Linked DNA regions of Homo sapiens: regions 2, 3, 4, 5, 6 and 7 are each linked to region 1. The links are contacts of gene promoters, found by promoter capture Hi-C in blood cells and fetal thymus (Javierre and others, 2016). All regions are on one chromosome and are shown on one strand. The core of a region is centred on a gene start or on the middle of the fragment in contact, and the rest is flanking DNA. Distances in the headings are between cores, read along the strand shown.

Region 1 (4,138 bases), core at 889-3,388:
AAACCAAGGCTGGGAAAAGAATGGAAGTTAGCCGACTAAATAAAGGAGCAGCCTATGAAAAGACCCAGACAGCAACAATAGGACATCAGAAAGTTCAAGCAGTTCTGTGTATCTAGAGAAGACATGCCAGGAAGAATGTAGCAAGGAGAGAGACAACAGAGATAGTCAAATTATGAAGGAGCTTGTATGTCAAGCTACGTGACATAGATCTGACACTGAGGGCAGTGAGAAATCTTGGCTTTCTAGGGGGCAATTTAATGGATGAAGAGATCTATCTGTGTTAGAAGTAATCTGCCTAGAGTGGGGAAGTTAAGGCTGAGCAGAAGACAAGAACACCCAGAGAAACTGTAAAATGTCAGAAGGGGTGAAAGCTGAGGGTAGAAACCTGACGAACAGCAATATTTAGAGTGGATATGCAAGAGAAGCCAAAGAATGAGACTGAGAAGAAGAAATTCGAGAGGTAAAGAAAAAGAAATCAGGTGGCTTCATGGGAAACAGGGAGGAGGGAGCTTTAAAAAGGTAATGGACACTACATTAATTGATGCTGGAGACTAGAAAGAAAATGGATAGAGCAACAAAGAAATCGTAAAGTTGGAAACAATTTAAATTACCATCAACAGAAAAACAGACACATTACTGTATGTTTCTACATGGAACTCCCATATAACAACAGGGAAAATAAATGAATATCTCTATATGTCAACACGGATGGACCTAGTAAAGGTAACGATAAGTAAAGTAGGAAAAGAAAATATAGAATGTTATATACTGCTTACTTACATATGTAGCAGAAATATAAAGACATACATTGCAACGATGAATACCAAGTTCAGAAGAGCAGTTATCTCAGAGTCAGAGAGTAGTCGTGATTGGGAAGGTGGTTACACAAAGCTCTTCAACAGGAATGGTAATGTTTCATTTATTAAGCTGGTTTATGAATATACAAGCGTTTACTATATTAAGATTTGAGCATGTCGCACATAAAAATAATTGGTGACCATATCTCCGGAATTTTAGAGACGCCTGCATATGTGTGTTGGAAGTAAGTTGGAGTATCCGGAATGCAGTGGGTGGAACAGGAATGCAATAAACACAATGTCTAAGGCTCTACCGGAGGACTATCATTGCTCTAGCAATTGCATACCAATAGAAGGAGAGGTCAATTATCTGGATTCTTCCACTTAGCTTCCACTTAACTTCCCCGTTCCTCAGTTTCCCCTTTTGTAAAGTAGAATATAATAGTATATTCCTTGAGATGTTAGGAGAATGAAATGATTTCATACTTAAACATTGCTTAAAATAATCCCGAGGACATTATTTCAAATAAGTACTAGTTACAAGGGAGTTAGCCAACATCATCGTCAGTACAAAACAAACTGATTCACAGCAAACACAATAAAGTCCTGAATTCATGAAACACTCTTCAATTTGCCAGGAACCGTGTGAGATATGCAGAAACTACAGAAATTAAGGCTTATTTGTAGATATTAACACAGACATAAAAGATTTAATGACCGCAGTTCACGTTCAATCAGCCGTTCCCACATCCCTTGAGTGCAGTCTCTGTGCTGGCTGGACACTGCAAGCACAGACACATTCCTCAGATGTTTAGACTTTTTTTAAAAGTGCGTTGTTACATCCACATTTCACTTTTTATTTTCTTTCTTTTTTTGAGACGGAGTTTCGCTCTTGTCGCCCAGGCTGGAGTGCAATGGCAAGATCTCGGCTCACTGCAGCCTCCGCCTCCCGGGTTCTAGCGATTTTCCTTCCTCAGCTGGGATTACAGGCGAGTAGCTGGGATTACAGGCGCCCGCCACCATGCCCGGCTAATGTTTGTATTTTTAATTGAGACGGGGTTTCGCCATGTTGGCCAGGCTGGTCTCGAACTCCTGACCCCAGGTGATCCGCTCGCCCCCGCCTCACACAGTGCTGGGATTACAGGCGTGGGCCACCGCGCCCGACCACACATTTCACTTTTATTCGGATCGATCAGTAAACTCTTTCGCAAACCCTCAAACTCTCCCGACCACTATCTCAGGTAGCAGCGAACTCACCCGTCCTCAGGAGGCGGGACCTGCGTGCCGACGCACAGCGAGCACGTTGACGTCTTGGCGCACCGTTCCACGGCACCGCCCACCGGCTTGAATCCCGGCGCCTCAGAGGACTATGAGGCGGGCGCCAACTGCTTGGGCCGCAGGGCGGGAGGCAGCGCGGGAGTGGGGCGTTGAGGGGCCGGCCTAGCTTGGGGCTCTGGCCTTGCGTCTTCCGACCGAATCACCGCTCCTGAGCCCGGTGCGGGGCTGCCGCTATCGCCTGGCCGTGGGTGCCGGAGCGGCCGGGTTGCGACTCAGCGTTCTTGGGTGGGCGCGGGCGGCGTCTCCGCGGCGGGCATCCCCCGAGGCCGCCCTCGGGCCATGATCGACTCCGTGAAGCTGCGCCGCGACAGCGCGGCGGACTTCTTCTCCCACTACGAGTACCTGTGCGCGCTGCAGAACTCGGTGCCGCTGCCCGCCGTGCGCGCCTGTCTCCGGGAGGGCGTGCTGGATTTCAACGCCGACCGCCTCCGCGGGGTGGACTGGGCGCCTCTGCTGAGCACCCTCAAGATCAATAAAGACCTGCCCTTGGTCTCCATCAAGAGCTTCTTCCAGCCCTGGCTGGGGGACACAGGTTTGTAGTTCCCGCCTCCAGGGCCCCTCAGTCGGTGCGGCGAAGTGGGTTTTTAGGTGAGTGGTGTCCATTGTCGGGGTATGTGTGCAATAGAAGGGGTGTGCGGCCTGGACACTCACGAGCTAGGTGAGTGGCTTAAGGTCTCTAGGGCTTCAGTGTGCTCATCCGTAACATGGGCTTAATAACGAGACCCAGGTTATGTGCGCCTTCGCAAGGATTCCCTGCGCTGCTGATGCCTGCAGAGCTCTTAGCACAGTTTGGGACATCATTAAACATTTGACAGATGTTACCTATTTTATTGAATGACTTTGATTTGCCTGATAGAGAACTAAGCAGGTAGGAAATTAATACATGTCAGCCTTTGTCTTTTTTTTTTTTTTTTTTTTTTTTTTTTTGAGACACTGTTTCACTCTGTCGCCCAGGCTGGAATGCAGTGGCAAGATCTCGGCTCACTGCAACCTCCGCCTCCCGGGTTCAAGTGATTCTCCTGCCTCAACCTCCCGAGTAGCTGGGATTACAGGCGCGCGCCACCATGCCCGGCTAATTTTTGTATTTTTAGTAGAGATGGGGTTTCACCATGTTAGCCAGGCTGGTCTCGAACTCCTGACCTCAGGTGATCCGCCCGCTTCGGCCTTCCAAAGTGCTGGGATTACAGGCATGAGCCACCGCGCCCGGCCTGTCTTCATTTTTTAAGGTGTATATAAGAAGTTTGTAAAGTGCTTTACAAATACAAGCCATTTGTAAATGTATAGTGGTATAATTAGGGATCCAGACTCTCTGATTATTCGGAAAATATGTTAGGTCAACTATGATATATGACAAAATGCTGTTATTCCTTTGAGCACTTAGCATTTTCTACATAATGGAGGCAGCTTCCTATAGACGCTAGCTAGGTAACAGGAAGGAACAGTTTGTGCAAAAGTTTTGGAAATAGGAGAGAGTATGCAAGCTGAGTTACAGGACTGGAATTTAGGTTTGAGAAAGAGCAGAGAGAGTTGAGGCTGGAAACCTTGTGGGGGCCAAACAGGGAGGGTCCTCGTTTGTCCTGTCATAGAGTTGGATGTTTATCCTGAAGGTTTTGGGAAACCGCTGTAGGATGATGAGATGGAATTTCCGTAGGAGCTCAGTCTAGCCTCCATATGGAAGACAAATTAAAATTGGAAGGATGGTGAATTGTAATCTAATGGCCCAAACTAAGGTATAGAAAAGAAGGGCTGGGGCCGGGCACCGTGGCTTATGCCTGTAATCCCAGCACTTTGGGAGGCCAAGGCGGGGGGGTGTGGATCACCTGAGGTCAGGAGTTCGAGACCAGGCTCACCAACATGGTGAAACCCCATCTGTACTAAAAATACAAAAAAAAAAAAAAAAAAAATTAGCCGGGCGTGGTGGCGGGCACCTGTAATCCCAGCTACTTGGGAGGCTGAGGCACGAGAGTTGCTTGAACCCAGAAGGTGGAGGTCGCAGTGAGCTG
Region 2 (4,138 bases), core at 1,140-3,639, 510 kb before region 1:
AATTGTACACTTTAAATAAGTGAATTACATGGTATATAAATAATCTCAATAAAGCTGTTTTAAAAGTGTATTTAATAGGTACCGATAGATATATTAACTTAAAACTTACTGTAAATAACATCAAAACACCATCACCTTTCAAGTATTGGATACGTATCATATATCTGTCTTTGTGTTGCTTTATATATGCATTTCCTCCTATTTTTTCAAGTTAGTTCTATACCAAGCAATAAGAAACTTTTTTTTTTCCTTGAGACAGAGTTTCACTGTGTTGCCCAGGCTGGAGTGCAGTGCCATGATCTTGGCTCACTGCAACCTCCACCTCCTGGGTTCAAGCGAAATCTCCTGCCTCAGCCTCGTGGGTAGCTGGGACTACAGGCGTGCACCACCATGCCCAGCTAATTTTTGTATTTTTAGAAGAGAAGAGACAGGGTTTTGCCATGTTGACCAGGCTGGTCTTCAACTCCTGGCCTCAAGGGATCCGCCCACCTTGGCCTCCCAAAGTGCTGAGATTACAGGCGTGAGCCACCACACCCAGCAGGTTTTTTTCTATCATCAATATTCTTGTTACCTACTAGTAGGGATAAAGAGATCTTGCAGAACTCTATTGAGGGCTTGACCACCATTTCTAACAAAATGCACCCTGAGCTTCAGACAGCTGACTTGAATTATTCTCAAACCAACCTTTTTATAAATTGGAGATTACTCCAATAAACTTATATCTGATAATGCCAGAAGATGGGAGGAAAGAATTATAAAAACAAATAGACTATCCTCATTTGTACAATTTAAAAAAGTAATGTTGAATTTTTGATGTAGGTGCCCAGAATTCAATTTTTTTAATGACTAAGAGGGCTGGCATCATATTTAATAGATAAAAAGTACAATTAAAAACAATATGTAAAGTATATATACAAGCAAATATATATATAATTAATGTTCCATCTTTTTCAATGTACTATTAACTCCAGAGAAGTAATAAAAACTATTCAAAACCAGAAAGTAACAGATTACCAGAGCTGGAGAAGTCTCTCATTTCATAAAAAGAACATTATATTTCTGGCTTCTGAATGAACTTCTGTATGATTTTGTACTTACTCTATTTGGGAAGGAAGGGACTATACCTTTTTTTTTTCTTTTTTATTTACCCTACAGAATATAAGAACTAGATCCAAGTTCACTGAAGTGTACTTGAAAAGTGTTATGTTTTTAAGCATAAATTGTTATCTGAATAAACATACACTACAAAGAACTCATTACAGCCATCACAGCAGGAGCAGAATTCCACAGTCTCTATGAACAATCTTGCAATTCAAGTCCATGTGGAAAGGGTAATTTCCTTTCTTGAAGAGAAATACAGAAATGGCATTCATTATGATTAAGACCTTGTAAGTATAGAAATGTGGAAGTGTGAAATTTATAATACTATAAACATGCTTATTACAAAAACATCACTGCAGAGTGGGCCTCAATTTTTTCAGTGTTTGCTCATCTTACAAGGGCTTGGAGTTTCACGTAATGACTGCTGCGCTGGCTTTGTAATAACAAAATCAATGTCTTTTTTCTTTTTCTGTGGCCAAGTTTCCTCTGTGCATTATATGTATACTGGGGTAAGGTAACAGTAAAAAAAAAAAAAAAAAAAAAAAAAAGTCTTCAGATTTCAGAATATTCACAATGGGCACATGCTGGAAGGAAAATGCTTGTAGTGGTGGGGAATCTGGGGAAATTATTGGAGAAAGGAGGTACGTGAAGAGATTAGGAAGATGGTGCAGAGATCAAAAAACAGCACTGCAAGCACTGATCACAAACTAAGTCTTTTATTGCGGAAAAATCAGCAACTGTGAAGTGTGGCTAGGTATGCTGCATCTGAGAAGTTTGAATGAACCCCTCAGAAGGGTTCACCTCCGTGGGCACCATGCTCTATCTGTTCTGCATCCTCCCTTATGCAAGCACATCATGAAAACGTGCCAGCCCACAAGATGGGGTGTTGTGTATGGTGTGGCAATTTCTCACACGCTGATTCTTACCAAGTTCCAAGAAAAATTAAGAAGAACCTCGAGTGTGTGTGTGTGTGTGGCAGGCAAGCGTGTTTAGATCTAAGCCAGATGTTTCATGCCTACTGTATTCAGGTAGATGTGTTTGAAGCTTGAGGTGGGAAAGCAAGTTAACTACCCACACAGTCACTTCCTTCCATAGTTTTCTGAGCAACACTGAGAAGTGCAGTCTCAGGCATTGATGATTTGTTTCCGGGCTAGTGCAAATTAAAAGGAGTGAAAGAGAAAACACTGTTTAGACTGAGAAAGTGTTTTTCAAAGAACAGCAAAGCACAAAGGAAAATGTACTTGAAGAGAGGATATGAACACAATGCTAACAAAAGGTACCATTTCTAACATCTGGTGACATCCACAAATGTTTATATTTTCAATTCACCAACCTTCAGGATCTTACATGTATTTGAGAAGGGAACTTCAATTCATTTAACATGTAACATTTCCCTTTCATGAGCCAGGACTGTACCACATTCCATGTGGGATGAAAAGATGACTAAACCTCCATCCCTGATGTGTTTGTATCATCATAGAAAGCTATGAAGCTAAATTTAATCTTGGTTTTTAAAGTAATTACTTTTCTGAGGAAGCTTTTAGTAAGTACAAAAACACTGTGGAATGATATCCATCCTGGATATCATATGTTGACAATGTAATTTTAAAAATAGTCTCTTCTCTTGTTGTTATATCACCTCTATGGTAGATACTTTTGGGTTTCTGCTATGTGATATATGTATGATTCCATTCAATTCTTTCTTGCCCAGGGATAAACTGAGTAGCTAAATAAATTTGTCTGAGGCAACACAGACAGTGAGTGGCAAAGTGGAACTTTTCAGAGCTTGTGCTCTTAACTATCTAGACCACGGCTTGGCAAACTTTCTCTGTAAAGGGCCACAGAGTAATTGAGGCTTTGCAAACAATTCTATCTCTGTCACAATTATCCAATTCTGCTGTTATGGTGTGAAAGCAGCCATAGACAGTGTATAATGAATGGGTGTGGCTATGTCTCAATAAAACTTTATTCATAAAACCAGGTGGTGGGCCATAAGGGAGAGATGTGATTATCTTGCCAAATAAATAAACTTTTTTTTTTTTTTTTTTGAGACAGGGTCTCCCATCACCCAGGCAGGAGTATAGTGGCAGGATCATGGCTCATTGCAGTCTTGACCTCTTGCCAACTCCTGCCTCATTTTTTATAGATAGAGGTCTCGTTACATTGCCCAGGCTGGGCTTGAACTCCTGTGCTCAAGTGATCCTCTCACCTCAGTCTCCCAAAGTGCTGGGATTACAGGTGTGAATCACCACACCTGGCCACATAGACTCTTATAGGGCAGCAGTCGTGACTCTCACTTGTTTTACATAGTGGCTACATGTGGATGCATTTTGTTACCAATCACCAAGTGTTCAAGTGTTTCTCAGAATGGGTTGGGTGTCTAGTTGTCCAGGATTTCACAGTCTAGTTGGGGAGGGTAAGATCCTTTTCTAAGAACAAAGCAAATAATGCAGAGCCATAGGAGTAGTGAAGTGGATGCTATAGATTCTAAGTGCTGCACAAAGAGCTTAACACTGGGTTACTATTAGTAATGGTGGTGGGACTTCATTGGGCTATGAAGTTTCAAAAAAGGAAGTATTTCCTGAGTATTCATAAGTGTCCTACGTGTCAGGCATCATGCTAAACGTACACATATGTTATATACTACAGTGCACAAAACAATCCTATGAGTTTGGTCGTAAGGCCCAGAAAAATCAAGTGACTTGATGGTAGTTCTACAAATAGGAAGTGTCAGAACTGGGATCTCAACCTTGATAGACTGATTTCAGTGGTGGGCTCTTAACTTCAAAATTGTGTTCCTCCCCAGAGAGAGGAGAGGCAGAGGTGGACGGTAACCAAATGAAAGGGAGACACAGAGGGGACTATAAGAGTTAATACACAATTGGTCAAAACTACTGGATTGTTCCTTTTTCTGATCTGCTATTTCAAAGCAGATGAGTTTCTTTTCTTTTTTTTTTAGACAGAGTCTTGCTCTGTTGCCAGGCTGGAGTGCAGTGGCGCGATCTTGGCTCACTGCAACCTCCGCCTCCCGGGTTCA
Region 3 (4,138 bases), core at 697-3,196, 490 kb before region 1:
GTAAAAGCACACCATTTTGAGACACGAAGACAATAACAGAAACTAAGAGTTAGGAGTTAAGGGCAGTCCCCCTGGCTATCAGGAGGTGGTGGTGATGGTGACTGAGAAAGTGCTCTTTAAAAAATTTTGTCTTTTTTAGTTGTTTGGCTTTGTAAACCATTATTTGATAAAAATACAAACTGATTGATTTTTAAACTTAAAAAAAGATATACTGGTTCAGGTGTAAAATACAGTTCTGGGAAGAAGATACATATGAAACAGCTGGTGGTAGTTACCCAAATTTTAAAATGGGGGAGGTAGAGTGGAAACACAGGAGAGTTTTCACTCTCTTCTGTAGCCTTCTATGTATGTGGAATTTTAAATAATGAACATATATTACCTTAGTTATTAAAATAATAAATATATTCTAAGAAAATAATACATTTATTTTATATTTTAAATGTAACAGAAACATCAAAAGGCAAGACAACAAAGCAGCAGACAAGCTCATTGCTGGGAGTGACTCATGGTGCAGAGTTTGATAAATGTCACAGAGAAAACCAGAACCTTTTAACTCCTACTTTTGATCCTGAATACCCTGTTATGAAGAAGACTTTTCATACTGAAAAAGGTAGAGGAGATCAGTAAAAAGTAAGACTGGGAAGACTACTCTAATGAGATCAAGTATCTTTAACTGAAGACTTGACATTCTAAGACATTATCTAGCTTTAGTTATTACCATTTTCATAAACATCAGTTTATAAGATTAGCAAAGCCAGCAGGAATGGTCCAAAGACCCTTAATTTAAATGAAAAACAGGCACAGAATGGGATGATGCATGGAATGAAGTTTGACATACACTGTATTGAGAAAACTTTAGGTATTCTGAGGGCAGCCTGAAGACTCCATGCACCCACCCATAGCACCAGCTAGACAACAGGAAGAGAAGGCGAGAAAGAATTAGTGACAAACTTTCCTACCTTTAGAATGTGTCTTCAGGTTGTAATTCCCGTGTGGGACCTAATTTCTTGAACATCTGCTCTGCGCTAGGTGCTTCACATGCTACCTCAATTAGTTCATGCAACCTTGTGAGATAAAGACTTAAGTTTGAATTTCCCTGGCTACAAGTCCATGGTTTTTCTATTAAGCCATGTTGGATGGTGTCAATTGGTGACATCATCCATGTGAACATTCCTCATGTTTAGATCTAGCAGGACAATGTGGCATAGAGAGGGGTGGTCAGGAGAACTGAGTTCTTAGCCTGGTCCCAAGGCCACCTCTTGGGAAGTCCTTTCACCACTCTGGGGTCCAGTTTCCAAATCCAGAGTCTCCTCTATCTAACATTTTCAGATGAAATAAAATCCAGTGAAAGACATAATAACGGAATAAATATTTTCAGCTATTATCTTAAATGGATTACTTCAATATTCATCTTTTGTTTAAATCTACATCTCATTTCTCTTTAGGTAGTATCTTTTTGAAAAGCTGTCATTTCAAAGTACTGAAAACCTAAAATCTAGGCAATGAAAGTAGAGTAAATGACTGAGGTTTTCCTAAAATTACCCTGGAAAGATGAGAGGATTCAACTACTGTTCTGGGAAATGGAAATAGCTGTTCCCAGCACTCACTCCTCCCCTGATGCTCCCAATTAACTTTTAAGGACAAGCATGAAGCTTTGTAGAGCTTGATGCCTTCTGCAAGCACTACAGTAAATGTGGGGCATAAATTGCCTCCCATTAAGACAACTGTGGAGGATGACAGAAGTAGGTCAGTTTCAAACAACAGCCTAGCTTAGTAGCCTAAGTGGTATCTGTAATTCTAGGGTTGGGGCATCTTTGAAAGCACTGGCTAAAGGAAAAGTTATTTAACCCTTCTTTGCTGAATTTTCCAGCTCTCTCCACTTCTTGAGAGAAAATGTCAACTGTTATTGTCAGATAGAATATGAAAATAGGTAGCACAGCAAGAACATGACAAATGTTTAATAAATTACAAAGTAAATATAAATGACAAGTGTTTAATAATTGGATTTTGGCCCACAAGTGAGGTATGATCCAGGTACTGGAGCCAGTCCAGATGTTGTATCGGACTGGTCCTGTTATAAGCCAGATTCCACCAGTATAAAAAAGTTGAACACAGGGATGGAATGACTCCTCAGGGTAAGAAAGGGAAAGGGGGAGTTCTGAAGGAAGGCCATATTTCTGGCTGGGACACTGGCTTCTGACAGATTTCCAGTGGTTGACTGCATCCAACACTTCAGGCTTCAAGCTTTGGCTCTAGACCTACCTCCCTGCCCCATGTTCTCGACCTTAGCATTTGGGAAGGCTGTGGGGTCTTCACTCTTCACTGCCGCCAGGTTCTCAATCCTTTCCATAGTTTTGGCATTTTCTCTCTCCCCCTGGCTGCCATGGACCCATTCTTGCTTTGGGTCTAAGTCAAAACATCCCACTCAAACCAATACCTTGTGAGGAATGAGGCTCCACTGTACAGAAGCAACGAGCTGATGCCAGTTAAGACCTTATAAAGTGAGGGGTCTTGGGCATTTCACCCCCGTGTACTCCTTACTATAAATAAACACCCTTAACCAGGTGGTAGAATGTTATTCAGGAAAACAGGCAGAAGGCTTTAAATATGTTAGCAGATCCTTCTATCCTTCCTTTTCTCTTTGTTTAGGTTTCCCAGGAATGTCTTGTACAGGAACAAGTTTTTGCTGAGAACTGAGGACTTCAGAAACATTTATTTCCATAAATAATATACTAAATGCATATAATTTTTCTCTAGTTGCTAATACTGGGACTTGGATGGGTCTTCCAGGACAATAGGTGAAGGGTTAATTCCACATACTATACACAAATTGGTATTTCTCTAAAATAATGTTTTCAAACTAATGATAACAATCCACAGTAAGAAATACAGTTTACACAGCAATCCAGTATATTCACACACAGAAACACAGACATATAAAACTAACATTTCATGAAACCATACTTTTCCTTACAACATGCAATGTACTCTATTCTCAATTCCATCCCATCCTCCCTATAAAAAAATGCTAACAAGACCTATTAAATTGATTTTACGACCCAGTAAATGGGTTTTGATGTGATGAAAAAAATATTGTGTATATTTTTTTCATACATTGTAATTGTTCATATTCTGTATTTCTTCACTAATTTAGACTGTTTTATTCTCAATTATACTACAATAGCAAATATTTTGCAAGATTGGGCTAAAAAGTCTCTGTGGCCAAATGAATATATAGTTTTGAAATCTGGCTGCAGATGTGCTGATTGGCAAAGAACATTTAATTAGTCACATAAGGTACATCTTTAAAAAATATTATTTCCACTGAAAATCAGCTATAAACATATTTTCTTTTATAAATACCAAATTAATATTAAAGAAGAAATCTTGCAAAATTCTTTCTACCAATACCAAAAGATTTCTAATGCATGGACTAAAAACTCTGTTATAGGATTATCAGAAACAGATGTTTTTGATATTCAATCTTTCTTAAATGTAAAATATGAAAACCAAGCAAACAAAGCATTCTGCCTCTTCCATGCAGTTTTAATCATAATACAGTTTTACTTAATTAGCAAATACAGATGGGGCCTTAATAAGAACATTTTAAATGTAAGAGGTTTTTGTGATAATATAATCCCACTAGTAATGATCATGTTATCATCATTATGTAATTTAGAAAATTTATGAGTCAGTGAAAGTCATTTTCAAGATGGTATACAGAAGTCGACCTCATAACCTCCATTCCAGCCAAATGGCACAGCTCAAACTTCCTGAATATGCTTACATATTTTTTGTTTTATTACCTTTATTTCTAACTCTTTCTTGAAGTCTTCCCAGTCATCAAGCTGGAAAAAAAAATCCCTCCCTCCCCTGAAATCACGTATGGCTTGTTAAGAACACTTGCTATATTAACCTCCCTGGGCTTTTCTTTGTAATTGGTCATGTAAATATTATACCAACCCTGACTGACTGAGCTTCTTGGAGCTCAACTCTGTATCATACTTATTTCTATACACTCCCCCAACACCCAAACAACACCTTGCTGTGGCAGGTGATCAATAAATTTTTGTTGGTTAAAATGAACATTTTGAACAACAGTGAAAATAGGCATTTATCTAACCTGTGAAGATGGTGC
Region 4 (4,138 bases), core at 706-3,205, 460 kb before region 1:
GCTGCTTTTCTTCATAGGTTCCCGTGTGAAAACATGTTAGAGATGTTACTGTAGGAGATTTAACTGAGGCAGAATAAGACCTGAAGAATGGCACATATATTATACTGCCCCTGGATCTTAATCTAGGCTCTCTGAAGAACATTTCACGAAATCCAGACCCTTTATTAATTATTGAGCTTGGTGTCCCAACCAAAGTGATATTATAGAATAACAAAGCCACAGCAAATGATTTAAAGTTTTATAAAATGTAGGTTCCCTGCTAAAAGACAAATTCTTCTTCTTCTTTTTTTTTTTTAAAAAGGAAGACTCAGATGGTACTCAAGAAAGACCTCAGCTGGTTAAATTTGGCCACCAAAGTGGTCCACATTCCTCTGGCTTTGAGACCACAGCATTTTCATTTGATTATCTACATTGTAGAGCATATAGTTATTTTAAGCTTTACACTCTCTGCATTTGTTCCATCTAAGATGAAGGAACAAGTGTGGAGATAAATCTTGGTGTCATAAAACTATCTCCTTTATTTCAATGAACTCTTTAATTTGTATTACTTCTAAAAGATGTATCAGTTTTGAAGATATTTTCAATAAATTGACAGAAAATGGATGTTAGAACTAATACTGCTACGTTTGCTAAGCTTCTCGGACCAGACATTTGTACTTAATTTCTCCATTTGCTTGTAACTGCATCTTATCTTTCTGAAACCAATCAGAAAAAGAGAAAGCTGCCTAAAATGCCTTTTAAAAAAATAAAAGAAAAGAAAAAATAGAGAGACAGGTTCTTGCTCTGTCACCCAGGCTGGAGTGTAGTGGCACAATCATAGCTCACTGCAGCCTCAAACTCCTGGGCTCAAGTGACCCTCTGGCTTTGGCCTCCCTAGTAGCTAAGACTACAGGTGTGTACCACATGCCCAGCAAATTTCTTTATATTTTTTGTAGAGACAGGGTCTCACTCTGTTGTCCAGGTTGGACTCCAACTCCTAGCCTGAAGTCATCTTTCTGCCTTGGCCTCCAAAAGTGCTGGCATTACAGGTTTGAGCCACCATGCCCAGCTCAGCTTACTTTTATTTTATTAGATTTTAATCTTTAAGATTTCTTATCTTTTAAGATAATCATTATTTCTTTAATCCATGTAAAATGGATTGTTCATGTAAAAATTTAAAAATGCAGGTAAGTAAAATAAATAAAACATAAAAACAAAATGACCTTTACCCCAACTATTCAGAAATAATCCCTGCTAACAGTCTGAATTAATCTTCCAGGCATATATGTATGCACCTATAATAAATATCTGTATTATATGTCTTTAAAAATCAGATGCATGCTGTACGTGCTGTTTTGAAATTATTTACATCAATATATCATGAGCGACTTTCTGTCCAATATTAATTATACATCTATATTACCATTTTTAGCATCTGCATAGTATTTTATTTTTTAGGTGTACTCTGAATTTGTTAATCGATTTCCTACAATTGGATAATTTAATTATTTTCATTGTTAACAACTTTGAGCAATGTTGTCTTTGGGACATGTAACCTACTAACTACAATTAGCAATAACATTTCTACCAGTGGCATTACTGGATCAAAGGGTATAAACACCTCAAAAGATTTTATATATTGTCATACTACTGGCAGATTGTACCAATTTATCCTCCTATTAACAGTATCTAAGAATGTTCACTTCTCCTCATCTCTCTTTTTTTTTTTTTTTTTTGAGACAGAGTCTCGCTCTATCACCCAGGCTGGAGTACAGTGGCGTGATATCAGCTCACTGCAAGCTCTGCCTCCCGGGTTCACGCCATTCTCCTGCCTCAGCCTCCCGAGTAGCTGGGACTATAGGCGCCCGCCACCACGCCCAGCTAAATTTTTTTTTGTATTTTTAGTAGAGACGGGGTTTCACCATGGTCTCGATCTCTTGACGTGATCAGCCTGCCTCGGCCTCCCAAAGTGCTGGGATTACAGGCATGAGCCACCACGCCCAGCCTCCTCATCTCTCTTTTTATCTTTGCCATTCTAGCAAGTAAAAAGGCACTTTCACTCATCAATTGTGTTTCCGTAATTATGGCATGCTGAGATTTACTTTTAAAATTCAGTTTAGATACTTGGGGCGCTGAGGCACAAGAATCACTTGAACCCAGCAGATGGAACCTGCAGTGAGCCGAGAATGTGCCACTGCACTCCAACCTGGGTGACAGAGCACGACTCTGTATCAAACAAATAAAAAATAAAAGAAAAGAAAAAGAAAAAAATTCAATTTAGAGACAAACTTATGGAATGGTGGAATAAGGACCTCTAAAAATCTATCTTTCCACAAAAGTGGCAAAAATTGTCAATATCAACTTTTTCAGATATCTGGAAATTAACCACAGGCTTGCAACAACATAACATTTATTCAAGAAAAACAGCTGAATCTAGGTGACAATAGCTTGTTTTGTGCAACTTGTGTTCCTCCCATCTCCCTTTTCCAGCTCTGCAATAGCCTAGAAAACCAACAGCTTCTCAGCCACAGTAGCTGTGAAAACCAAAAGTAACATATTAAATGTAAATGAACTAAATACGTTAGTCAATAGACAGAGATAGGCAAAATGAATTAGAAAATGACCAAACTACATGCTGGCTACAAGAGACACAATTTAGATTAAAAGACACATTGAAAGAAAAAGGACAGAAGATGACGTACCATGCAAACAGTAACCAAAAGAGAGCTAGACTAATATCAGACAAAACAGACTTCAGGGTAAAAATTATTACTAGAGACAAATAAGTACATATAATAAAGGTTAAGTCAATCAAGTAGGCATAACAATTGTATGCTTATGTGCAATAATAGTGCAATAACAATTTGTGCACTGAACAATAGAGCCCCAAAACACATGAAGCAAAAATTGACAAAACTGAAAGAAGAAACAGACAATTCAACAACAGTTTGAGACTTCAAGATTCACTTTCAATAATGTATAGAACAAAAAGGCAGAATATCCACAAACAAAAACACAATGAAAAATACTGTAATCCAACTACAGCTAACATATATCAATAGAACATGCTACTGAACAACAGCAGAATATACATCTTCTCGCATGTTCAGGTGGCAGTATTCCCCAAACTGATCTACATAGTCAACATCATCCCTATCAAATCCCAGGTGCCTTTTTTTTTTTTTTTGGCAGAAACTCACAAGCTGATCTTAAAATTTATGTGGAAATGTAAAGGACTCAAATAGTCAAAACAATCTTAAAGAAGAATATAGGTGAAGGACCCATACTTTCTAATTTCAAAGCTTACTACAAAAGACAGTGTGGTATTGACTTAAAAAAAGACATGTGCATCAGTGTAATAGAACTGAGAATTCAGAAATAAAACTTTATGTTCACGATCACCTGGTTTTCAACATGGGGGCCAAGACAATCCAATGTGGAAAGAACAGTCTTATAGTAAATGGTTCTGGGACAACTGGAAAACCACATGCAAAAGAATAAAGTTGGGCCTTTTCTTATACCATATAAAGATGGTCCTAACTTACAATGGTTCAATTTAAGATTTTTCAACATTATGATAGTGCAAATGCAATATATATTCATTAGAAACTGTAATACCATTGTAAATCAAGAGCATCTGTATAAAAACCAACTCAAAATGAACAATATACTAAAATGTAAGAGCTGAAACTACCAAAACTATTGGGAGAAAACATAGGTGTAAATCTTTGTCACCCTGGATTAGGCAAGTTTCTTAGATATAACACCTAAAGCACAAGAACCAAATAAAAAATAGACAACCTGAACTTCACCAAAATTAAAAGCCTTTGTGCTTCAAAGGACACTATAAAGAAAGTGAAATCCCTACAGAATATAATGTATTTGCAAATCATATTTCTGATAAAAGTCTAGTCTCCTTTATATAAAGGACTCTGACAACTCAACAATAAAAACACAAGTCTATTAAAAATAGGCAGAGGATCTAAATAGACATTTCTCCAAAGAAGAGATACAAATGCCTAATAAACACCTGAAAACCCCATTAGCCTTTAGGGAAATAAAAATCACAATGAGATACCATCTTATAACCACTAGGATGGCTAAAATAAAAAAGAAAAACAATAACAAGTGTTGGCTAGCATAAGGAGAAACTGGAACG
Region 5 (4,138 bases), core at 953-3,452, 430 kb before region 1:
CACAGCAATGAAATGGCCATTAAAGACGCTTCATAAATTTCTGGTTAACTTAAAAGGAAGCTGCAGTTTTTGCTTGCCATTCTTTTTGCTTTGCCTCAGTTGAATAATAGAGAGAAAGGCTCACTTTGCTTGGGGTGAAAGAGTTAAATTAATCTAGCTTAACAAAAGACAAGACTAAGAGGAACTGTATCTAGCTCTGCTAGTTCCAACATACATCATCTAGAACCAAAAACCAAACCAAACAAAAACCCAAAACAAGGCAAAGAAAAACAACAAAACCTCCAACTAAACAAAAGACATACAAACTATTTGCTCCTAGAGTAAAATCTGGGAAGCTACCCAGGATTGAAGATATGTTACAGACAATTTGTGAAGCAGGTAAAATTTATAGACCACGAACGACATTTTTGGCTGGGCGCAGTGGCTCACACCTATAATCCTAGCACTTTGGGAAGCCCAGATCACTTGAGGCCAGGAGTTTGAGACCAGCCTGGACAACATGGTGAAACCCCATCTCTACTAAAAATACAAAAATTAACTGGGTGTGGTGATGCATACCTGAAATGTCAGCTACATCGGAGGCTTAGGCATGAGAATCGCTTGAACCTGGCAGGTAGAGGTTGCAGTGAGCCACCATTGCACCACTGCACTCCAGCCTGGGCAACAGAGTGAGACTCTGTCTCAAAAAAACAAAAACAAAACAAAAAACAAAAAAACCCTGCATTTTTCATTGCCAAGAAGGGATCAAAGAGCTGCTGCCCGCATAACCCCCAATCCCATGCAACCCCCCTCACTCTGGGCTCACAGGACTCAGAGGAGGGATTCAGCACACTCTGTATTTCACATCTGCCAGGGAAAAAGGGAACTTTGTTCCCCTAGAAATGGAGTTCTAGCATGGTAAGAGTAGAACATCATCATTTGATGGTCCTCGTCACATACTGAGAAAAGGTAATAAAATAATCTCTTAACTGAATTGTACTTTCCATTGAAGCATTTTCTATTCTAAAAAAAAAATTGGTGGAATATGAGGGACAGGTTCATGTTAAATTATTCCATTCATTCGACCTTTTAAAAAAAAAACCACACCGAGGTCTGAACAAATTTATACTGTAAATTCAGAGTTAATTATAGCCATAATTTGTTTTGTAGGAATGATTCTGAGTGGCTGTTGAGGTCATTCTCAAGGGTGTTGCCATGGTGCCAGGCACAGGTACATTTCCAAGGCAATGTATGTGTAACAAGTATCTGGTAGTGACTCTCTCCTGATGTCAGGGAGAGGAAGCTCCCATGTTTTACATAAGGCTTGTTAAGTGTCTAGGAGACAAGCTATTCATGTTAGAAAATGGGAGATTTAGCTGCTTAAACCCACCTTACTCCAATCCCTCCATGGGGATTTAATGACTTTTCACTGTGCTGAGACATTATAAATTATTAATTTATAATTTTTTTTAAAAAAAGAAACCCCGAGCTCAATATTCTTCCACATGTTTGCCCAGTTAGCTATGGCCCTCACACTCGGTGGTCAGGGCCCACAAGTGCCTTTGTCCACGGCTATATCAACAACACTTAGCCAAGGGCCTGGAGCACAGCAGGTGCTCAGCATGGACCCAAATTAAAACTATTTTATGGGAAGTGCTGTAGTGGTTAGAAAGGCAAAAACACAGGAGAGGGGAGGTTGTTAGCTATCCATCCTTACGAAATTACTTCTCTCGGCTATTACTGGCCTGCATCATGTAATAACCAAGTTCTGAATAAAAATGTCTCTGACAAAGACAACACAGAAAGAGAAAGCATTATTTGTTTAACTTCATTTAGTAGATTTGCTTCCTGCTATTCTTTAGGTCCTGGCTAGAGAATGACAAAATGTTTATGTCCATTTTATACCTGTTTCAAGCTTTCAGGCCTTAGCATTCTGTCTAACACAGTGCAAACTGAGGAGGTGGGACTTTATCAACAAGACATTTCTGACACAATCTTCTTGATGGAAAAAAGGTTTTTGATGGTTTTCTGTGAAAAGTGAGGGAACACAGACACTTGCATATTAATGTTTCAGTGATTCCTTTCTGACCATAAGCAAAATGCAGAGTCATCTGGAATTAAACAACATATTTTGGCCATGACATTATGGTAGATGCTACAGATAGGAAGATTCATTGGATATGATCCTTACCTGCAAGGAGTTTATCAATTTGTGGGGAAATAAGGGTTACATAAAAACAAGAATGGTGAGATTTATAGAGATGAAATGAACCTTTGTATATTTTGGATACAGTCACTTTCTGGGAACCTGTTCGAACAATCTCTAGCCCTTGGTGATAATCCTCAAAACATTCTTCTGTGTAGTATGGCTGCACTGCATGAAAGACTTAACAGAAATCATGCCCATTAGTTTACACCTTGTAACAGATAAATTCTTTACACGCTGAATGTCAGGATAATCTCTGGCTGAAGAAAAATAAATTCAGAAACAGGACATAATCCACTACTTTAAATGATTAAAATATATGACAGAAGCTTCAACTTCTCTAAAATAATATGCCCAAATCAATATTACATACAACACTTTCTCTCTTATGTTTTAAAAAGAGATTCCAATTGTTCCTTAATTTTGACACTTTATCAATAACAGTTTTGAGGTGACCTTCAAATTAATTTATGCTCCCATTTGACATGAATGCAAACTGATTTTTAAAAGTCTCTTTTTAAGATTAAAAAGAACCACCCCTCCCCCCACCTATGACTGGAAGAGTAACTGAAATCTAGACCAAGAATAGCACAGAAATTAAAAATTCAAGTGCTTTGTTTTCTCTTAAATGAAGGAAACAAAAAATTAAAATTTAGAGATATGAGCTGGCAGGTAAAACATATCACATTATAGCTAGGGTTAATAAATTTTATAAGCCAGGTGTGGCGGCATGTGCCTACAGTCCCAGCTACTTGGAAGGCTGTGAGGCAGAAAGATTGCTTGAACCCAGGAGTTTCAGGGTGTAACCACTGCACTCCAGCTTGGGCAACACAGTAAGACCCTGACTCTAAATACATATATTAAAGTTAGAGGCATACAACCCTCAGTAATCACACCAAAAGGCAAAAAGTACCTGTGGATAGTTAAGTAGGAACAGAAATCTCTGAAATTTCATGCAAATCCAACCAGACACAATAGGATAAATGAAATCGCATCTTGGGGCTTTCAATGTAGCATGACACGGGGTGTGTGTTGGAGGTTGGGGAGCTCTTTGACCCCTATGTAAGGGCCTCCTATAGAGAGGCTGCATTTATAACAAATTTGCAGTTCACGTCAAATATTAAGATGAAGTTATGGCACAGAAAATGATTCTGGGTAGGTCTTCACATTTTTAATTATTGAAAAGAAGGTTAGAAAAACGAGGTCGACTTCATTTAAAAAAATTAAGAAGACCTCATTGTGAGAGGAACAGTCTTTGGGGAGTTGAAAGCTAGATCATGCCATGAGACGGTGTCTGACACTATCAAAAGCACTGGAAGCTAAAGAGAAATCAGAAACACACAGTTATCGTGCAGTTGCTATATGACCACAAAAGTCCAAAGGAAAAAAGTGAAAAAAAAATTGTAAAGTGACCTGCAAAAACAAATGAAGAAGTAACAGTTCTGCAAAACTGGTATCTTGAGGGGAGAGTCAAGGAGAGGTTTTGGTAGCATAACCTACTCTAGTCCCTTCCTCATCTGGCAAATCCTGTGGCTGACAGGAGCCTGGCTGGTAATCTGGTTAGGATGGTTAGTGGCACAAGATTGCTCACTCCACAAACACTTCCATCTCCTAAAAAGCTCATTTTGCAGAGAGCAAATCAACTTTCCTTTTTCCTTTTTGATACCTGACATACGTGTTAGAGTTCAAGGATGTGCAGCATTTATTAACAGGCATTTTGTTCATAAGAAGCTTACTTTTTTTCTTTTTTTTTTGAGATGGAGTCTCGCTCTGTCGCCCAGGCTGGAGTGCAATGGCATGATCTTGGCTCACTGCAACCTCTGCCTCCTGGGTTCAAGCGATTCTCCTGCCTCAGCCTCCCGAGTAGCTGGGATTACATGCGCGCAGCACCAGGCCTGGCTAATTTTTTGTATTTTTAGTAGAGATGGGGTTTCACCTTGTTGGTCAGGCTGG
Region 6 (4,138 bases), core at 1,146-3,645, 410 kb before region 1:
CTTCACAAACTGATTTATTAACTCATTATTAAGTTTGTTCTTCTATCATTAGATTTTTATTTTTAATCTCCATTATGGTCACCAAGATAATCAATGACTATAGTTATACTGTCTTTCCCAAAAAACATTTGCTGGAACTACAATTCTCCTCTTGGTTTTGCTGGCCTATAGGCTTTATTTGCTCATTCTAACATAGAATGGGGATTCCTTCTTGGGTAAAGGAAATACCCCTCCTTTATTGTTTAAAATATATTTTTTTTTCTTTTCAGAGAACTCAATCTCTTTCTTGGCCCTACCACTACCATTTTCCATGTAAATATTCTTCTATTTGGTTCTTTGCTTAACATTTTCCTTTTTCATGTTTGTCTGTAATGTCATAATTATCAGTATCAATGACATTGTAGGTCAGATGCTTGATGCAGCATGGCAAAACCTACATCAAACACTTCCAGAGTATGTTGATTGATATAATTACATAATTCCATTACAAAGAACACTGCCTTCAGGTCTATAAAATCTTGGGGTACAATTTAAAATTTTGCACTCTCTGAAGTTCTACTATTATCTTCATAATTATGATGTTGTACTATCCTAGTATGGGTGTGTGTGTGTGTGTGTGTGTGTGTGTGTGTGTATGTATGTATGCATTATTAATACCACCAAAAAAACTAGTTTATCTTCAGAGAGTTTATACAAAGTCACAGTTGATTTAAAAAAATTGAAAAGAGAGATTAAAGATATGCATATTCATTAAAATTCAAAACAATTAGGGTATGGTCTGTATGACTACTTTCAAAGAATATCTGAGGAACATTAATTAATGGAAAATTAAGTTAATGGAAAACTAAGTTAATTGGAATGTTAATAGGTATTTGACAAATGGATTCTGAAGTCCAAGTAAGAGAATGGGGAGAATAATGGTTATAAATAGTCAAACAGAGGTCTGTGCTGCAGAACACAGAAGTTATAAAAAGGCAATGGCCCTTACCTAGAAAGGTGCTATAAATCCATGAGCCTAGCATTGGGGATATTATTGAATTTTCCAAACTTGTTTGACCATGGAAGCTTTTTTTGCCTCCAGATCTGTTGACGAGACTGTTGGTGAATTAAATCATGTTTTGAAAACACTGACTAGAGACTGAGACCCCTAACAACCAACTGTAGGTTGATTTTATACCAACAAAACAACTCATTGACTGATTTCTCCCCACCCTGGCATAATAGGTAAATGCCTGCTTTATAGATTCATATCATCTTCATTTCTGAGATCACATAATGTTATGTGGTTCATTTCCTGATATTATACCTCAGAAAAAGCCTAATCATTTTAGTCCTTTGTAATGTCTGTGCTCCTACAATCTCATTAACCAGAGGAGTATGTTGCTGCTGGTTTGGAATTTTATTTTATTTGACAACAGGAAAAACAGATAAAGAAGATTTCCCTGTTCAGTTGGTAGAATTCAGACAGGCGAAAAAATAAAAAGAACAAGCTTTTTGATTAAAAAAAAAAAAAAAAGGCCCAAATGCTCCCAAGAATTTCAGAGTCTTACATAGGGAATATCATCTTTCTGGAACATCCCATGTGAAATCTGACCACTGAAGCTTCAGACATTCAAGAAATTGTGTTAGGAAAAACTGAAAGTAAAAGGCTCACTTTCCTAGAATCTTGGGGAAGGAATAGAGCTTTTAGAATACCTTGCTTAAATGCCCCTTTAACAGAGCCAGAAACTGTTCCATTAATAAAAATAAAGAAACAAAAACAATACCTCTTTATCCTATGAAAAACGGTAATGAAGCATTTAGAAGTTGTTTTTTTTTTTTTCTTTGAGAAGGAGTCTTGGTCTGTCACCCAGGCTGGCAGGCTGGAGTGCAGTGGCAAATCTCGGCTCACTGCAAGCTCCGCCTCCCGGGTTCATGCCATTCTCCTGCCTCAGCCTCCTGAGTAGCTGGGACTACAGGCGTCTGCCACAACGCCCGGCTAATTTTTTGTATTTTTAGTAGAGATGGGGTTTCACCGTGTTAGCCAGGATGGTCTCAATCTCCTGACCTCATGATCTGCCCATCTCAGCCTCCCAAAGTGCTGGGATTACAGGCGTGAGCCACCACGCCTGGCCTAGAATTTAAGTAGGAAGAAGGGAAGGAAAATAACTCACATCCTACAAGGCCTGGTTTTTTTGTAGTAAGTTATATAATTTGTCACTTTAAATAAAGACCCAAATTTTGAAAATATTATAGATAAGAAGTGTAAAAAGTTACCTGGACCACTGCTGAGAAACTGTTAACTTTCCACTGAGAGTATAATAATATAGTTATAGTCTACTAACACTTTTGAGTATTAAAAAGGCTACCAAAACAGTTAATGTTTGTATTAACCTGTTCTCACACTGCTATAAAGAACTACCTGAGACTGGATAATTTATGAAGAAAAGAGGTTAACTGACTCACGGTTCTGCAGGCTGTATAGGAAGCATGAATGGGAGGCCTCAGGAAACTTACAATCATGGTGGAAGGTGAAGGGGAAGCAAGCACGTCTTACCGTGGTAGAGCAGGAGAGACAGAGAAGCGGGAGGTGCCACACACTTTTAAACGATCAGATCTCATGAGAACTCACTCACTATCATGAGAACAGCAAAGGGGAAATCTGTCCCCACGATTCAATCACCTCCCATGAGGCCCTTCCCCCAACAAGTGGGGATTACAATTTAAGATGAGGTTTGGGTGGGGACACAGAGCCAAACCATATCAATGTTGTATGTCTTTAAAGTATTTATTGACCAGCAAATCTATTTTATTACATTGATATTATTCAAGGAAGTGTGCACATTAAAAAATTTTTCAAAATATAAAATCTTCCTAAAATATAAACTTTTGATAAATCAATGTAGATTTTAAAGTAAAAAATGAGCAGAAATACTTTTCTTGGTACCTTCATGTACTTTAGTCATGTTCTTAGCCATATCTCTTTCTAACATCATGTCCCTAACATCCTTCAGAGAACTATATTTTTTCAATATTGACATATTATGTATTTAACTATTTCATAGAATTGTTTGTAACATTCTTAAAAATTGCCTTAACTATTTTAGGTCAATAAATTTGAAACTGTTAACATTTTCAACCATGCTCTTCTTGGTAGACCTTAATAGTTTTAATTCAGAAACGGCCTCTCTTGTTGGTTCAGATACTTGGTAAGCTTAGAACAAGGTCTGCTGAATGGTAAGTAATCTCACTCTATTATGTTTTTCAAATGGAAAGACATAAATATCTCAGTTCAAATATTTTCATAGAACTATCTTTCGGTATTAGTTCAGAATAGTATTATTTCACAAATATGTTTAGGAGATGAAACTCATAAATAGATTATTGCAGCTTGTTTGGATACAACTGTGATTTATGTGTGAGCCATAACTATTCTAAGAATATTTCTGGTCCACTAGTTTATTAATTTAATACATACAGTATTTTACCATGACACTATGCTCCATGAAAAATTATACTCGTATCATTACCACAAAATACATTACTTTGAACAATGACTTTTAAAATTTTTTAAAGAAGCAAAAGCATTTACTGTAGCAATCAAAACCATGTTGGATATTTCACTTTATCAGCATGAACTTCTAAAAGCTTCATCTCGATTCCATGAATTAATGAAGAAAAAACAAACCATCAATTACCTGCAAAGTTTTTCTTCTGCTAAGAGAATTAACAGATTAATTGCTATTGCTTCATTTTTTTGTACATGCATAAGAAAACCTGGAATAAAAATGAGCTAAATTAACTCGGAAAGAAAGTCATTTGATCTAAACAAAAAGTCATGCTTCACAGAGTGATATAAAAATGCATTCTCTGCTGCTGCACATGCTAAAATGTCATCTTTGGGCACAGTCTTCTGAAAATAACAGCGAACTCTTGAAGCAGAAGATTTGTGTCTTTCGTATTTTGTGTGGTTGATTATATTCATGGCTACAATGGTGAATGTTAAGTACTGATAAATAATTTTATATGAATTACACATTATCAACTTTCTTTAGAAACAAAAATACAGTACTTAATTTTTTGTTAAACATGCATTTTCAAGTTTCTAAAAAAACTTATTATGGCCAAAAAGATCTGCTGCAAAATAAAAGCATTATCA
Region 7 (4,138 bases), core at 852-3,351, 400 kb before region 1:
TGCTGGGATTACAGGCATGAGCCACCACGCCCAGCCAAGATCCTTAAAGTAAAACGTTGTTGCTCACGTATTTTCAGTTTTGTGTTATGAAATCTGTGTGCCCAAACAATCCAAAATATATAATTCGTTTTCTGGGTGGGAAGCAACTATATTTCTGCCTCATGATGGGAAATAGAACCCAAGTAGAAATGGGGTAGAATTGGGGTTTCACCATGTTAGCTAGGCTGGTCTCAAACTCCTGACCTCAGGTGATCCACCCACCTCGGCCTTGCAAAGTGCTGGGATTACAGGGGTGAGCCACCGTGCCCGGCCACAAGAATTTTTAAATTGATACTTGCTGCAGCATTTTCTGATTTGTCTACAAAGAGCTACATTACTTGTACAATTTAATATATATATATAAATGTATACATTAAAAAGAGAACCCTAACAGTTTTCACTTGGATGCTGCTGAGATTTTTAGTGGCAATTCTGAAGAGAAGATGATTTCTAGATAGTCTTTGTGACTCTGATGAGGAAAAAAAAAATCTACTGTAAAAAAACTCCCAAAACTTTAGTTTCTGAGACCTGACTCTTCATTAAGAGAAGAGTAGTCATATGGTACCCTCTTCACCATCTTCTTCTTTGGGGTCCATACTGGCTGGGTTGGGAACTGCCTCTTTCCCTTCCCTGATGCCTCCAGTAGAACCCTTCACTTCTAGTTCTCAGACTCCATCTCTCTTATTCCCCCAGGCCTCGTGGTGAACAGCAATATGTTGTTAGCTGCTACAGCAGCTGGTGAATAATCAAAGTTCTTACTGAATCATTGGTTAATCAAAACTAGAAGTTAGACTTGACTGATCAAGAGCTTCAATTTTTACAGTAAAATGGGATGGCCATTCAAAAACTACTTTATTTCAGACAACCCTTCATTAGCTTGTTTGAGACTAAGATAATTAAAGTAGGGTTGATATGACAATTTCCACTATCCATAAATCATTACATCTCTCAACTTTATCCAGAGACTGGTACCAGGAATCCAAAGTCCTGGGCTAAGTATACTGGGGAGAGAAGGGTAAGAAATTTTAAACTTCCAAATTATAGCCTTCAGATTCCTCATTTGATTTTAAATACAGGTTTCCCGAAAAAGGTAACGTTCTGCATTCCAGTATGTGCTTCCCTGTGGTACTGAAATCCTCATGGCACTGCCAGTGATAGAGCAGCAGCATGGGCTGCCTGCCCTGAAGCATCATGTGGGCCATAACTTGAACGAGGCTCCAAGAACTGGAGATAACCAGAAGGGCAAGAAGGTATGGGTTGATCACTAGCGTGGCTATACTTTAACTTGGAGGAAACACTGTTATTAAATTTAGGTGGGTGGAAGCTTTCTATTTAAGAAAAAGTACCTTACTCCATAGTGGGTTAAGTGCTGAAAAATACATAAGAACTATGTATCTAATTAGAACATTAACCCAAAAATGCCTTCCCTAATACTTTAGCATTCCTGTGCCAAGTTATGATGACAGAGAGCTTTGTTTCTTAACACTTCTGAGACTTCTGAGAGCCAAGTTGAACTTTGGACTGTTTTATTTTCTTCACAGGCAAATGGAGAGCATAACCTTTCCAAATGACTCAGTGATTCATCTTTAATTCATTTTTCCTGTCTGGGAACCCGTGCGTTTTCCTCTGCAAATGCTCCAAAGTACATGTTTCATTTTTTAAGAAAATGTTATAGTTCTTCCTTTGCCATTTTGGATGCATAGTGTATTCAGTAAATGGTTGGTTGAATAATGGCTTCTCTAAAGATACAGTCTGGTGACATGAAATAATTGGTATACTTCTAAATAGAACATTACCTCCTTCAAAAAACAATGAATGAATTAGCATGTAGATAGATGCAAGTTTATTATCTCTGTCCTCATTCTCAAATGGGTATTTGGTGCAGATGTGTGCATTTGATTACTTTTTGTTTTTTTTTTTTTTTAGACGGAGTCGGAGTCGGAGTACAGTGGCATAATCTTGGCTCACTGTAACCTCTGTCTCCCAGGTTCAAGCAATTCTCCTGCCTCAGCCTCCCAAGTAGCTGGGATTACAGGCATGCGCCACCACACCTGGCTAACTTTTGTATTTTTAGTAGAGATGGGGTTTCACCATGTTGGCCAGGCTGGTCTGGAACTCCTGACCTCAGGTGAACCGTTTGCCTCGGCCTCCCAAAGTGCTGGGATTACAGGAGTGAGCCACTGCACCTGGCTGCATTTGATTGTTTTATAACATATATAACATGTTTGGTCTTACATCTGAATCAAATACTTTAAAACAAAAAAGAAAAAAAGAATAAATGAATTATCAGTCTTCCATTGTTGATTTTATAGTCTAGATCATGACAATGTGTTTGTCTCTAGGGAAGGGGTGAGAAGATGATGATTTGGGCATAGACCTTAAGTTCGTGGGGCAGTTCCTTTATCTGAGCCCAGGGTCACAATTCATACTCTTCCCTTCAGGGAGAGCACTGGAGAGAGATGAAAGGGACACAGGTAGGGAAAGCAGACCGATAGGCCACTCCTGAGCACTATACAAGGAGTATTAACTGGACTCTGGGGAAGACACATGGTAGAAGAAACAGCACTCCCTCTACCAGTCACTGCTGAGCTCATACTGTTACACGTGAAGCCCAGATATCACACCTCATGTATTCATGTTAAAAAAACAAACAAACAAAAAAACCCCAGCCCAACCAAATTGTATTGAAGCACAGACACACATACAAAGAATTTTCGTAATATTTTCTGCCCCCATGGGAGTTTATGCTTACCTATAAAAGAAAAAAAGAAAACTCCGAATGTATAACACATATATTAGAGAAGCTTTCTTAACTGCTTTGTGGTGAGAGGCTTGCAGTAAAAATAGACATTGGAAGCATTTAAATAAACAATTATCCAGCATCTCACACTGGAGTCAAATTTTACATTGACATTTCCTGCAAGGGCAAATGGGAGGAAAAAAGCCCAAAGCTCTCAGTATATATTTAAACCAGCACGGCCACAGAGAAATGATTGGCAATGGAACAATCAGTATTCGGCAATTTTCTCACAATAAATTGGACAAAATCACTGCAATTTGGTATAAATGTTCCTTTCAGGAATTATATTTTATTCTAAGGTTCTTCTTCCCCCTTTGCCTCCAACTTAGCTGCATCCTAGAATTTGTATATCAAATGAAGCTACAAGAATCATTATTATTTTAGATTTATCAAGGGTTGTGCCCAACTATTATATGTAAACACATAAATGAGTAAGTGAAACAAATAATATGTAAACTATGCAACGCACAGTTTGGCACTGGTCAAACTCCTCTGACACAGGACTACGTTCATTATATGGAAGACTCTGACTAGACACCATCCTTAATACTCAAGTTTTATTCTTAAAAACAAGGAAAAACTGAGTCATAAGTTCTTAGTAGGGAGGCTCAGTGGTTTCTTGGTAAGGTAAAACGCTTCTATTCTGTGTCTTCAAGTTGGGAGTGCCCTCTACTGCCCAAAAGCATGGCTTCAGTTTTGGTTATCACAAAATTTTGTATGATCTATGCCAAAATATTAAAAATGAGAATAGCCTTTTCACTCCTCTGCAGGTGTATAGCTTAGAAATTAGTTAATAACTATGTGACCTAGAAGTTTAGTTTTCAATAAATCAAATCCCTCTAGGGGGAGTTCTCTGCCTTAAGAAATTATATTAAGGTGAACTCCTTGACTGTCTTCCCCTCACAGAGAGCTGTCATCAGAGCTACAACTCCCATCCCCTATTCTAGCTTTCCTCTAACCCTAGCTATTATTAGGAAAGGATGAGAGTAACTACTGCCTTGCACTGGCATGGAAACTACCACTTGGGCTTCAAGGCTCTAACTGTAGTAAGAAAAGCTGAACTGAAACCATCAACCAGGCTCCCTCTTTACGGTCTGATCAATCCTGACAGTACCATGTGAGCAGAAGGGCACAGAATTGACAAACAACATTCCTTGGCTGAGAAAATAAATTGGTTTTCATCAAAACCAGTTCAGACATGCTATTGGGTGGAATGTAGGGGGAACCTCAATATTTAGGAATGAAAAACAACATTGTTTTAGAAAAAAGATACTTGTTGAATTCTGATTTCTATTTGCT

Evidence for each region. Contacts are between HindIII fragments. The CHiCAGO score rates a contact against its expected background, and 5 or more counts as called.
Region 2: a contact is called between a fragment that was not itself captured here and the fragment with the promoter of CEP78 in region 1, in 1 of 17 cell types (activated CD4 T cells). The highest score is 5.5, in activated CD4 T cells.
Region 3: a contact is called between a fragment that was not itself captured here and the fragment with the promoter of CEP78 in region 1, in 1 of 17 cell types (fetal thymus). The highest score is 5.0, in fetal thymus.
Region 4: a fragment that was not itself captured here is called in contact with the fragment with the promoter of CEP78 in region 1 in 1 of 17 cell types (M2 macrophages); the score reaches 5.7 in M2 macrophages.
Region 5: a fragment that was not itself captured here is called in contact with the fragment with the promoter of CEP78 in region 1 in 2 of 17 cell types (monocytes and non-activated CD4 T cells); the score reaches 6.0 in monocytes.
Region 6: a contact is called between a fragment that was not itself captured here and the fragment with the promoter of CEP78 in region 1, in 5 of 17 cell types (total CD4 T cells, naive CD4 T cells, non-activated CD4 T cells and 2 more). The highest score is 6.7, in total CD4 T cells.
Region 7: a contact is called between a fragment that was not itself captured here and the fragment with the promoter of CEP78 in region 1, in 6 of 17 cell types (naive CD4 T cells, total CD4 T cells, monocytes and 3 more). The highest score is 8.3, in naive CD4 T cells.

The regions. Positions count from the first base shown.
Region 1 is chr9:78,233,937-78,238,074 of GRCh38, forward strand. It overlaps CEP78 (centrosomal protein 78), which reads left to right and starts at 2,139. Exons shown (of 17, transcript NM_001330691.3): 1 at 2,139-2,667. The coding sequence starts at 2,415. RefSeq lists an enhancer at 1,868-2,537 and a silencer at 2,163-2,532. The HindIII fragment of the contact is 10,697 bases long and covers 1-4,138 here.
Region 2 is chr9:77,723,957-77,728,094 of GRCh38, forward strand. The region is part of intron 6 of GNAQ (G protein subunit alpha q); the gene reads right to left. Among named protein-coding and RNA genes, the nearest start is that of GNA14, 78 kb to the left of the region's middle. The HindIII fragment of the contact is 493 bases long and covers 2,144-2,636 here.
Region 3 is chr9:77,746,812-77,750,949 of GRCh38, forward strand. All of the region lies in intron 5 of GNAQ (G protein subunit alpha q), which reads right to left. Among named protein-coding and RNA genes, the nearest start is that of GNA14, 100 kb to the left of the region's middle. The HindIII fragment of the contact is 592 bases long and covers 1,651-2,242 here.
Region 4 is chr9:77,773,713-77,777,850 of GRCh38, forward strand. All of the region lies in intron 5 of GNAQ (G protein subunit alpha q), which reads right to left. Among named protein-coding and RNA genes, the nearest start is that of GNA14, 130 kb to the left of the region's middle. The HindIII fragment of the contact is 2,647 bases long and covers 633-3,279 here.
Region 5 is chr9:77,801,484-77,805,621 of GRCh38, forward strand. The region is part of intron 3 of GNAQ (G protein subunit alpha q); the gene reads right to left. Among named protein-coding and RNA genes, the nearest start is that of GNA14, 160 kb to the left of the region's middle. The HindIII fragment of the contact is 620 bases long and covers 1,893-2,512 here.
Region 6 is chr9:77,821,125-77,825,262 of GRCh38, forward strand. All of the region lies in intron 2 of GNAQ (G protein subunit alpha q), which reads right to left. Among named protein-coding and RNA genes, the nearest start is that of GNA14, 170 kb to the left of the region's middle. The HindIII fragment of the contact is 1,591 bases long and covers 1,601-3,191 here.
Region 7 is chr9:77,838,406-77,842,543 of GRCh38, forward strand. All of the region lies in intron 2 of GNAQ (G protein subunit alpha q), which reads right to left. Among named protein-coding and RNA genes, the nearest start is that of GNAQ, 190 kb to the right of the region's middle. The HindIII fragment of the contact is 1,480 bases long and covers 1,362-2,841 here.